Linked DNA regions of Homo sapiens: all the other regions are linked to region 1. Evidence: promoter capture Hi-C in 16 types of primary human blood cells and fetal thymus (Javierre and others, 2016). All regions are on one chromosome and are shown on one strand. The core of a region is centred on a gene start or on the middle of the fragment in contact, and the rest is flanking DNA. Distances in the headings are between cores, read along the strand shown.

Region 1 (3,599 bases), core at 93-2,592:
GATGCATAAAATAAACAGAATTAGAAAATCAAGGCACTGATGGCAGAATAATTCCACTCCTGGAATAAATAGGGGCAGGATGTTACAAAAAGGAGATGAGGAGTGGTTAGAAAAGGCTCCAGGCATTCCAGAAGAATTTGCTCTCTCATTAATTTAATAAAGAGTATTGCGTACCTACCATGTGCTAATTAACACCGTTCTAGATTCTCAGCAACAAGCAAGGAACATAATTGATACAAACTTCTGCCTCTTGGAGCTCTATTTGTTGTAACCCAGCGAGTTACAGAGAAACGCCACACTCTGAGACGAATTCAGGAGTCCTTTATTAGCCGGCGACCGAGAGACGGCTAGTGCTCAAAATTCTCTCGGCCCGAAGAAGGGGCTAGATTTTCTTCTATACTTTGGTTTAGAAAGGAGAGGTTGGGGGGAGGGGTCTAGTTAAAACAATCCTACAGAAGTAAAGTAGGCAAAAAGTTAAAAGGATAAATGGTTACAGGAAAGTAAACAGTACTAGGTGCAGGGGCTTTAATTCTATCACAAGGTGATAGAAGCGGGGCTTTGGGCTTTATCAACCAGACACAAACGCGGGGGGCTCTGGGTGCTGTTAACCGGGCGAATTCCTGGGAACTGCGGGTATGGCTTGCCACAGTACCTTATCAGTTAATTGCATTCTTGGATGTGCTGGGAGTCAGCTTGCACAAGTTAAGTCCCTGAGGAAGCGGGTGGGTAAGGGGCTGCAAGTGAAGGAGCCGAGATGCAGACTGTCTGGCTCTTTCAGCTAAGGGAGAGTCAACTCAGGTTAAAACAAGGTAGGGTATCACATATTCTAGTGGGGGACAGAAAATTAATAAAACAAACAAGCAAAAAATGTGTATATGTATACTAGATGATGGTATTTCGCAGGAGAAAATGCCACAGCTCTGGGAGGAAGCCCGAGGAGGAGCAGCGCATCCTGGAGACACCGGTGCGCCTCTGGTCGCCGCCTGTGGACCGTCTAGAGACGCTGGGCCACACGGAGCAAAGCACTCAGGGGTTCAAGCAGCATCAGACTTCCCCGCGAGGTTCCTCCACTGCCTTTGTCACCCGCCAGTGTGAAGTCTCCAACCCTCCCCGTGTGCAGTCTGCGCTTGGGAATTTGTTGTTGTTTGTTATAACCCAAATATACTTGAAAGGTAAAGCTTAAGAGCAAACTTACCTGGTGTGGGCACTGCAGCGTGAAGAGTTCTCTCACCCATTGCTCTGTCCTCCTGCGCCTGGATCCTCGAGAAACGGACTGTTCTTAGAAGCTGAAAGTCCAGCCGGATTTACAGACATCCAAGTAAGAGTCTGTGAGAACCGAAATTGAAAGGACATGCACTTTGTGGGGAGTTGACTGTTGGGGATTTTCCTGTTTATCAAGACAGGAAACTAAAGGAGCTTGAAAGTGCTGGTTCCTCCACACCAGACTCCTGAAACTCAGGTTTGTTTGTCCCTCTTCCACCCTTAGCTTAGGTATCTTTCGCCTCCAAAATGAATATAGAGCAGCAGACATGAATGTTGTTTCATCTACCTGTCTCTCAGGGGTAATTTTGTCAGGGAAGAAATTTGAGTTTTTGTTTGCTTTTATTTTTTTTTACATGCTTATATGTTTCTGTTTCTCATCTCTTTTCTTTATTTTTTCATTAACCATAAAATATGTGTGTGTTTGTGTGTGTGTCTATGGATATCTATGTATCCTCTAACGTTGTTGCCCAGAGGTGCGGTGGTGGCAAGTAAATACTTCTCTTTCAAAACACAAACATCTCATTGAAACTGGATCTTTTGGAGGACAGGAGGATGATTGGACCATAAAAAGCATAATTTATAATTAGGAGTCTTACCCAGGCTACCAGAAAAATGGACTCAGTTCCTAAAATGACTAGCCAGTTTGTTAACAGAGTTTGGGAAATCTATCTGAAATAAATGGGTAATGATTCCCCATTTGTGCCTATCCCTTAGATCTTCCTATTTGTTTAGTAATGTCTGATTAAACATTTGCAAATTAATAAGTACAAAATTTTAGGCACTTAATCAGGTAAAATTACTGGTGCCGATTTTGATTCAAAACTTAACATTTATTTCCTATAAGCAATATTGAAAGTGAAAATAAAGCTAAGTCAAGTTTTAAATAGGACCAGTAATAAGAAATCAGGTGCTTTTTTCTCTTACCATTTTTTAATGTCAGGAAGTCCCTCTCTCTTAAAAAAAAAAAAAAAGAAGAAGAAGAAAAAGTACAGGGATGACTGAATCCAGGTAAATGTGTTTGAAACACCTGAATTTCACCAGTGGCACCCCTTTCCAGATAATCCAATGTTACTGACTTCAGATAATCATGGAAATGTTAATCAAGAAGAAATTTAGGCTGGGTGTGGTGGCTCACTCCTGCAATCCAACCATTTTGGGAGGCCAAGGTGGGCAGATCACTTGAGTCCAGGAATTGGAAACCAGCCTGGGCAATATGGGGAAACCCCATCTCTACAAATAATAATAATAATAAATTAGCTGGGCATAATGGCATGTGCCTGTTATAATAGTCCTAGTTACCTGGGAGTCTGAGGTGGGAGGATGACCTGAGCCCAGGAGGTCAAGGCTGCAATGAGCCATGGTGGTCCCACTGCACTCCAACCTGGGCAACAGAGTGAGATACTGTCTCAAAAAAAATTGTTAATTCACAGTTGTATGTATAATGATTGCACATAGCAATATGTCTATGCACATAGAAAATATACATAGCAATATGTCTGTGTTACACAGATAAAAGTCTATAAGTGTTCCCCCAACCACTACCTCCTTAAAATTAGTACTTCTAGCTCAGGTGATTTTTTTAAAATGTCTTTCTGAATTATATGAATTTTTAAAGACTTTTTTTATAATCACAGATATGCACACACATACTCATAAAAAGGAAATAACTTTTATTTTGATAAAAAGACTCTGAACATTTTTTGAATATTTTTCCATATCAGATTTTGAGCTTCTTATTTATACATTTTTTGAATATTTAAAGTGCAATGTCTATATGTTTTTGTATTTTGTGGTTAACTTGTAATTCATTTACAAGATGTATCAAATAAAACAGTTTTTTGAAATGAGGGTGTTTTACTGGCTCACTGATTTTGGAAGGAAACTGGAGGAAATGAGTTGCAGATGTTTTTAATCTCACTGAGCAAGGCAAGGAGACAGAAAGTTATGACGTTAGTAGATCATACAGGGCAAGTGATAATGTTATCTGTGTGTACTTACTTTAATATAGTTCAGAATAGTCACTGTCGTGTGTGTGTCTGTGTTTTTACAAATTGACATTCTGGAGGTAGTGATAAGCATATGAATGGCCCAATCTGGAATGATCTCCTGAAGAAGAGGTACCCTGTTCTGTGTCAACACCAAATTCTTATCAACTGGCATAAAGGATGTAGAAGTAATAATAACACCATTGTTGTTTAACAGAGGTGATTGGCTCAAAAAATAAGCATGAAGAAGTGTCTTTGTCTGTTTGGGCGTCTATAAAAAATAAGTAAATTGGGTAAGTTATACACAACAGAAATTTACTTCTCACATTCTTGAAGGCTGAGAAACACACG
Region 2 (3,876 bases), core at 237-2,736, 54 kb after region 1:
GTTATGAGCTTAAAATAGGAGATTATAAGACAATATTTGCAAGACTTATGGTAACCTCAAACCAAAAAACATACAACAGATAACACAAAAAAGAAACAGCAAAAAACTAAATCATATAACCAAAGAAAATCACTGTCACTATAGAAAGACAGGAAGGAAGGAAAGAAGTAAGAGAAGACCACAAAACAACCAGAAAACAATGAAATGGCAGGAGTACTACTTATCAATAATAACATTGAATGAAAATGGACTAAACCTGCCAATCAAAAGATGTGGCTAAATGCACAAGACCCATTGATGTGCTGCTATAAGAAACACACTTCACCTATAAAGACACTCATAATCTGAAAACAAAGAGATGGACAAAGGTATTCCATGCCAATGGAAACAACAAAACAAGCAGGAGTAGCTATACTCATATCAGGCCAAAATAGATTTCAAGACAAAAACTATAAGGAAAAACAAAGCCAGTGAGTATATCATGATAAAGGGGTCAATTTAACAAGAGAATATAACAATTTTAAGTATATATGCACCAAACGCTGGAGCATCCAGATATATAAAGCAAATATTATTAGAGCTAGAGAGAGAGACTGCAATACAATAATGGCTGGAGACTTCAATACCCCACTTTCAGCATTGAACAGATCTTCCAGACAGAAAAGCAACAAAGAATCATTGGGCTTAATCTGCACTATAGACCAAATGGATCGAATAGATATTTACAAAATATTGCATCCAATGGCTGCAGAATACATATCCTTTTCCTCAGCTCATGGATTATTCTCAAGAATAGACCATATGTTAGGTAACAAAACAAGTCTTAACACATCTAAAAAATTAAAATAATATCAAGCATCTTCCCTAACCACAATGGAATAAAACTAGAAATTAACAAGACAGTTTTTGGAAACTATAAGAATACATGAAAATTAAACAATGTGGTCCTGAATGACTAATGTGTCAATGAAAAAATTACGAAGGAAATTGAAAAACTTTTTGAGACAAATGATAATGAAAATACAACATAGCAAAACCTATGAGATACAGCAAAAGCAGTACTAGCAGGGAAATTTATGGCTATAAGTGCCTACATTAAAAAAAAGAAAAACTTCAAAGAAACAACCTAATGACTAATCTTAAAGAAGTAGAAAAGAGCAAACCAAACCTAAAATTAGAAGAAAATAAATAATAAAGAGCAGAGTAGAAATAAATGAAATTGAAATGAAAGTAACAATACAAAAGATCAATGAAACAAAAGTTGTTTTTTAAAAAATTAAACAAAATTAACAAACCTTCAGTCAGACTAAGAAAAAAGAAAGTATTCAAATAAACAAAATCAGAGATGAAAAAGGAGACATAATGGGTACTGCAGAAATTCAAAGGATCATTAGTGGCTACTATGAAAAACTATATGCCAATACATTGAAAAATCTGGAAGAAATGGAAAAATTCCTAGACACATACAACCTACCAAGATTGGACAACGAAGAAATCCAAAACCTGAACAGACCAATAACAAGTAATGATAGTGAAGCCATAAGAAAAAGTCTCCCAGTAAAGAAAAGCCTGGGACGCAACGACTTCACTGTTTAATTTAAAGAAGAGGTTATACCAATTATATTCAAACTATCCTTAAAAATAGAGTAGGGAGGAATACTTTCAACCTCAGTTAATGAGGCCTGTATTACCTTGATCAAAATCAGACAATGACACATAAAAAAGAAGAAAGCTACAGGCTCATACCTCTGATGAGTATTGATGTAAAAACTCTCAAGAAAATACTAGCAAACCAAATTCAACGGTACATTAAAAAGACCATTCACCATGACCAAGTGGGATTTATCTCTGGGATTCAAGTATGGTTCAACCTACGAAAATTAGTCAATGTGATACTTCATATCAACAGAATGGAGGACAAAAGCCATATGGTCATTTCAGCTAATGCTGTAAAAGCATTTGATAAAATTCAACATCCCTCCATGATAAAAACCCTAAAAAAACTGGGTAAGGAAGAAACATATCTCAAGATAATAAAAGCCATATACAACAAACCCACAGTTTTTATGACACTGAATTGGAAAAAAACCTGAAAGCCTTTAAGAACTGGAACATGACAAGGATGACCACTTTCACCACTGTAACTCAACATAGTATTGGATGCCCTAACTAGAGCAATCAGACAAGAGAAAGATATAAAGGGCATCCAAATTGGAAAGCAAGAAGTCAATTTATCATTATTTGCAGATTATATGATCTTATATTTCAAAAAACCTAAAGACACCACCAAAAAAACAATGAAAACTGATAAGCCAACTTAGTAAAGTTGTAGGATATAAAATCAACATACAAACATCAGTAACATTTCTGTATGCCTACAGTGAACAATGTGAAAAATAAAAGTAATCCCATTTCCAACAGCCACAAATAAAATTAAATACTCAAGAATTAACTAAAAAAGTGAAAGATCTCTATAATGAAAATTATAAGACACTGATGAAGGAAATTGAAGAGGACAGAAAAATATGGAAAGATATTCCATCTTCATGGATTGGAAGAATCAATATTGTTAAAATGTTCATACTGCCCAGAGCAATCTACAGATTCAATGCAATCTCCATCAAAATACTAATGACATTCTTCACAGAAATAGAAAAAAATAAAGCTATCCCAAAATTTATTTGAAACCACGAAAGACCCAGAATAGCCACAGCTATCCTGAGCAAAAAGAACAAAACTGGAGGAATCACATTACCTAACTTCAAATTACAGATCAATAGCAACCAAAACAGCATGGTAGTGGCATAAAAACAGACACATAGGCCGGGCGCGGTGGCCGACGCCTGTAATCCCAGCACTTTGGGAGGCCAAGGCGGGCGGATCATGAGGTCAGGAGATAGAGACCATCCTGGCTAACACGGTGAAAAACCGTCTCTACTAAAAAAATAAAAAATAAAAATTAGCCTGGCATGTTGGCGGGCGCCTGTAGTCCCAGCTACTGGGGAGGCTGAGGCAGAAGAATGGCGTGAACCCGGGAGGCGGAGCTTGCAGTGAGCTGAGTTCGCGCCACTGCACTCCAGCCTGGGCGACAGAGAGAGACTCGTCTGAAAAACAAAACAAAACAAAACAAAAACAAAAATAGACACATAGACCAGTGGAACAGAATAGAGAACCCAGAAAGAAATCCACACACCTTTAGTAAACTCATATTCAACAAAGATGTCAAGGACATACACCAAAGAAAAGACAATCTCTTCAATAATTTATGCTGGGAAAACTGGATATCCATATGCAAAAGAATGAAACTAGGCCCCTATCTCTTGACATATACAAAAATCAAATCGAAGTGGATTAAATACTTACATCTAAGACTTCAAACTATAAAACTACTACAAGAAACATTGGGGAAACTCTCCAGGACATTGGTCTGGGCAAAAATTGTTTGGGTAATACCCCTCAAGCACAGGGAACAAAAGCAAAAATGGGTAAATGGGATCATGTCAAGTTAAAAAGGTTCTGCACAGCAAAGGAATCCATAAACGAAGTGAAGACACAACATAGAGAATGCAAGAAGATACTTGCAAACTACCCATCTGACAAAGGATTAATAACTAGAAAATATAAGAAGCTTAAACAACTCTATAGGAAAAAATCTAATTATCCAATCAAAAAATGGGCAAAAGATTTGAATAGACATTTCTCAAAAAAGACATATGAATGGAAAACAGTCATATGAAAAGGTGCTCAACATCATGGATCATCAGAGAAATGCAAATCAAAACTACAATGACATCATCTCACTCCAGTTAAAATGGCTTATGTCCAAAAAACAGTCAGTAACAAATGCTGGCAAGGATGTGCAGGAAAGGAAGTCCT
Region 3 (3,491 bases), core at 675-3,174, 61 kb before region 1:
CTACAAAAGCACACTTCAGTACATGGATCATTGACACTACAGAGCAATAACACAATCAAGTGTGGATCAAATCCACACATATCAATATTAACTTTGACTGTAAAAGGGCTAACAACCCCAATTAAAAGGCACAGAGTGGCAAGTTGCATAAAGAAATAAGACCCAACTGTCTTCGATGTTCAAGAGACCAATCTCATATGCAATTACACCAATAGGCTCAAAGTAAAGGGATGAAGAAAAATCTATCAAGCAAATGGAAAACAAAAAGAGCAGGGGTTGCTATTCTTATTTCAGACAAAACAGACTCCAAACCAATAATGATCAAAAAGGATAAAGATGGGCATTACATAATGATAAAAGTTTCAATTCAACGAGAAGACTTAATTATACTAAATATGTATGCACCCAATACTAGAGGACCCTAGATTCATAAAACAAGTTCAAAGAGACCTATGAAGAGACTTAGATAACCACACAATAATAGTTGGAGTCTTCAACACTCCACTGACAATATTAGACAGATCATTGAGGCAAAAAACTAACGAAGATATTCAGGACCTAACTTGACATTTGACCAGATGGACCTAACAGACATCTACAGAACACTCCACCCAACAATAACAGAATATACATTCATCTCATCTGCACATGGCACATACTCTAAAATTGACTCCTTGCTCTGCCATAAAGCAATTCTCAACAAATAAAAAAAAAACCCAAATCATACCAATGCTGTCAGACCACAATGCTGTAAAAATAGAAATCAATACAAAGAATATCTCTCAAAGCTATACAATTACATGAAAATTAATTAATCTGCTTCTGAATGATTTTGGGGTAAACAGTGAATTTAAGGCAGAAATAAATTATTTGAAATTAATGAAAACAAAGATACAACCTACCAGAATCTTTGAGACACAACTAGAGCAGTGTTAAGAGGAATGTTAATAGCACTAAACGACTACAGTAGAAAGTTAGAAATATCTCAAATTAACAATCTAACATTACACCTTGAGGAACTAGAAAAACAAAAGTGAACCAAGCACAAAGCTAGCTGAGACAAGAAATAACCAAAATCAGACTTGAAGTGAATAAAGTGGAGACAAGAAAAACCATACAAAAGATCAATGAAACCAATGGTTCTCTGGAAAAATACATAAGATGGATATACTTCTAGTTAGACTAAAAAAGAACAAAAAAAGAGAAGATCCAAATAAACACAATAAAAAAATGGCAAAAGGGACATTGCTATCAACTCCACAGAAATACAAAAAATCCTGAGAGACTATTATGAACACCACTATGCACACTAACTAAGAAACCTAGAAGAAATGGATAAATTCCTGGAAACATACAACCTACCAAAAGTGAACCAGGAAGAAATTGAAACCTGGAACAGACTAATAACAAGTTCCAAAATTGGGTCAGCATTAAAAAGCCTACCAAGCAGAAAAAGCCCTAGACCAGACAGAGTCATAGTCAGTTCTGCCATACATAGAAAGAAGAGCTGGTACCAATTCTACTAAACTATTCCAAAAAAAATGGGGAGCAGGGAATCTTTCCTAATACATTCTATGAGGCCAGCATCATTCTGATTTTAAAAACCTGGCAGAGACACAACAAAAAAAGAAAAATGCAGGACAATATTCCTGATGAACATGGATGAAAAAATCTTCAACAAAATACTAGCAAACCAAATCCAGCAGCACATTAAAAAGCGAACCCACCACTGTCAATTAGGCTTTATTCCTGGAATGCAAGGTTGATTCAGCATATGCTAATAATAAATTGATTCCTCACACAAACGGGACTCAGAACAAAAACCAGATGATCTTCTCAATGGGCACAGAAAAGGCTTTTGATAAAATTCAATATTTCATGTTAAAATATCTCAACAAACTGGGCCTCAAAGGAACATACCTCAAAATAATAAAAGCCATCTATGAAAAACCCACAGCCAACATCATACTGAATGTGAAAAAGCTGGAAACATTTCACTTGAGAACCAAAAACAGACAAGGATGCCCACTCTCAACAACTCTTATTCAACATAGTACTGGAAGTCCTAGCCAGAGAAATCAGGCAAAGGGGAAAAAAAAAGTTATCCAATAGGAAGAGAGGAAGTCAAACTCTCTCTCTTCATAGACAATAGAATTCTGTAGTTAGAAAACTCCATAATTTCTGCCCAAAGTCTCATCCATCTGATAAACATCAGCAAAGTTTCAGGATAAAAAAGTAAATGTACAAAAATAAGTAGCATTTCTACACACCAATAATGTCCAAGCTGAAAGTCAAACCGAGAACACAATCCTATTCACAATAGCTATTGTGAATAACCAAGAATAAAATACCTAGGTTTACAGCCAATCAGGGAGGTGAAGCATCTCTACAATGAGAATTATAAAACACTGCTGAAAGAAATCTGAGACTGCACAAACAAATGGAAAATTATTTCATGCATATGGATAGGAAGAATCAATGTTGTTAAAATAGCCATACTGCCCAAATTGATTTACATATTCAATGCTATTCCTATCAAATTATCGATGACTTTTTAAAAATAGAATTAGTAAAAACTATTCTAACATCCACATGGAACAACAACAACAAAAAAACCCCGAGTAGCCAAGGCACTCCTAAGCAAAAAGAACAAAGCCAGAGACATCACATGACTTGAGTTTAAACTATATTACAAGACTACAATAACCAAAATAGCATGGTGCTGGTCAAAAAACAAAACAAAACAAAACAGACACATGAACAAATGGAAAAGTTTAAAGAAAGCAGAAATAATACCACACACCTACAACTATCTGATCTTTGGTAAAGCTAACAAAAAAAGCAATGGAGAAAGAATGCATTATTCAATAAATGGTGCTGGGTTAACTGGCTAGCTATATGCAGAAGATTGAAACTGGACCCCTTCTTCTCACTATATACAAAAATCAACTCAAGATGAGTTAAAGATGTAAATGTAAAATTTAAAACTATAAAACCACCAAAAGAAAACCTAGGAAATACCATTCTGGACATAGGCACTGGCAAAGATTTCCTGATGAAAACTTCAAAAGCCACTGCAACCGAACAAAAAGTTAACAAGAGGGACCTAATTCAACTAAAGAGTTCATGCACAACAAAGGAAACTATAAACAGAGTAAACAGACAACCTACAGAATGGGAGAAAATATCTGCAAACTATGCATCTGAAAAAAGTCTAATATCCAGAATCTATAAGGAAGTTAAAGAAATTAAGAACAAAGCAAACAACCCCATTAAAAAATGGGCAATGGACATTAACAGACATTTATCCAAGAAGACATACACATGGCCAGCAAGCATATGAAAAAATGCTCAACACCAAAACAGAGATATAGATCAATGGAACAGAACAGAGCCCTCAGAAATAATGCCACATATCTACAACCATCTGATCTTTGACAAACCTGACAAAAACAAGCAATGGGGAAAGGATTCCCTATTTCATAAATGGT

Evidence for each region. The method cuts DNA at HindIII sites, captures the fragments that hold promoters and counts their contacts. A CHiCAGO score of 5 or more calls a contact.
Region 2: a contact is called between a fragment that was not itself captured here and the fragment with the promoter of GBP4 in region 1, in 7 of 17 cell types (activated CD4 T cells, non-activated CD4 T cells, total CD8 T cells and 4 more). The highest score is 12.7, in activated CD4 T cells.
Region 3: a contact is called between a fragment that was not itself captured here and the fragment with the promoter of GBP4 in region 1, in 4 of 17 cell types (activated CD4 T cells, naive CD4 T cells, non-activated CD4 T cells and 1 more). The highest score is 9.2, in activated CD4 T cells.

Annotation. Positions count from the first base shown.
Region 1 is chr1:89,197,600-89,201,198 of GRCh38, forward strand. It overlaps GBP4 (guanylate binding protein 4), which reads right to left and starts at 1,343. Exons shown (of 11, transcript NM_052941.5): 1 at 1,196-1,343. The coding sequence starts at 1,235. LOC107985076 (a long non-coding RNA gene) reads left to right here and starts at 748. Exons shown (of 3, transcript XR_002958332.2): 1 at 748-809; 2 at 904-1,459. RefSeq lists a silencer at 1,147-1,441. The HindIII fragment of the contact is 3,654 bases long and covers 1,177-3,599 here.
Region 2 is chr1:89,250,997-89,254,872 of GRCh38, forward strand. It overlaps the pseudogene LOC100421401. Among named protein-coding and RNA genes, the nearest start is that of GBP5, 20 kb to the right of the region's middle. The HindIII fragment of the contact is 4,280 bases long and covers 1-3,626 here.
Region 3 is chr1:89,135,729-89,139,219 of GRCh38, forward strand. The region is part of intron 9 of GBP7 (guanylate binding protein 7); the gene reads right to left. All of the region lies in intron 1 of LOC105378842 (a long non-coding RNA gene), which reads left to right. Among named protein-coding and RNA genes, the nearest start is that of GBP2, 11 kb to the left of the region's middle. The HindIII fragment of the contact is 8,826 bases long and covers 1-3,491 here.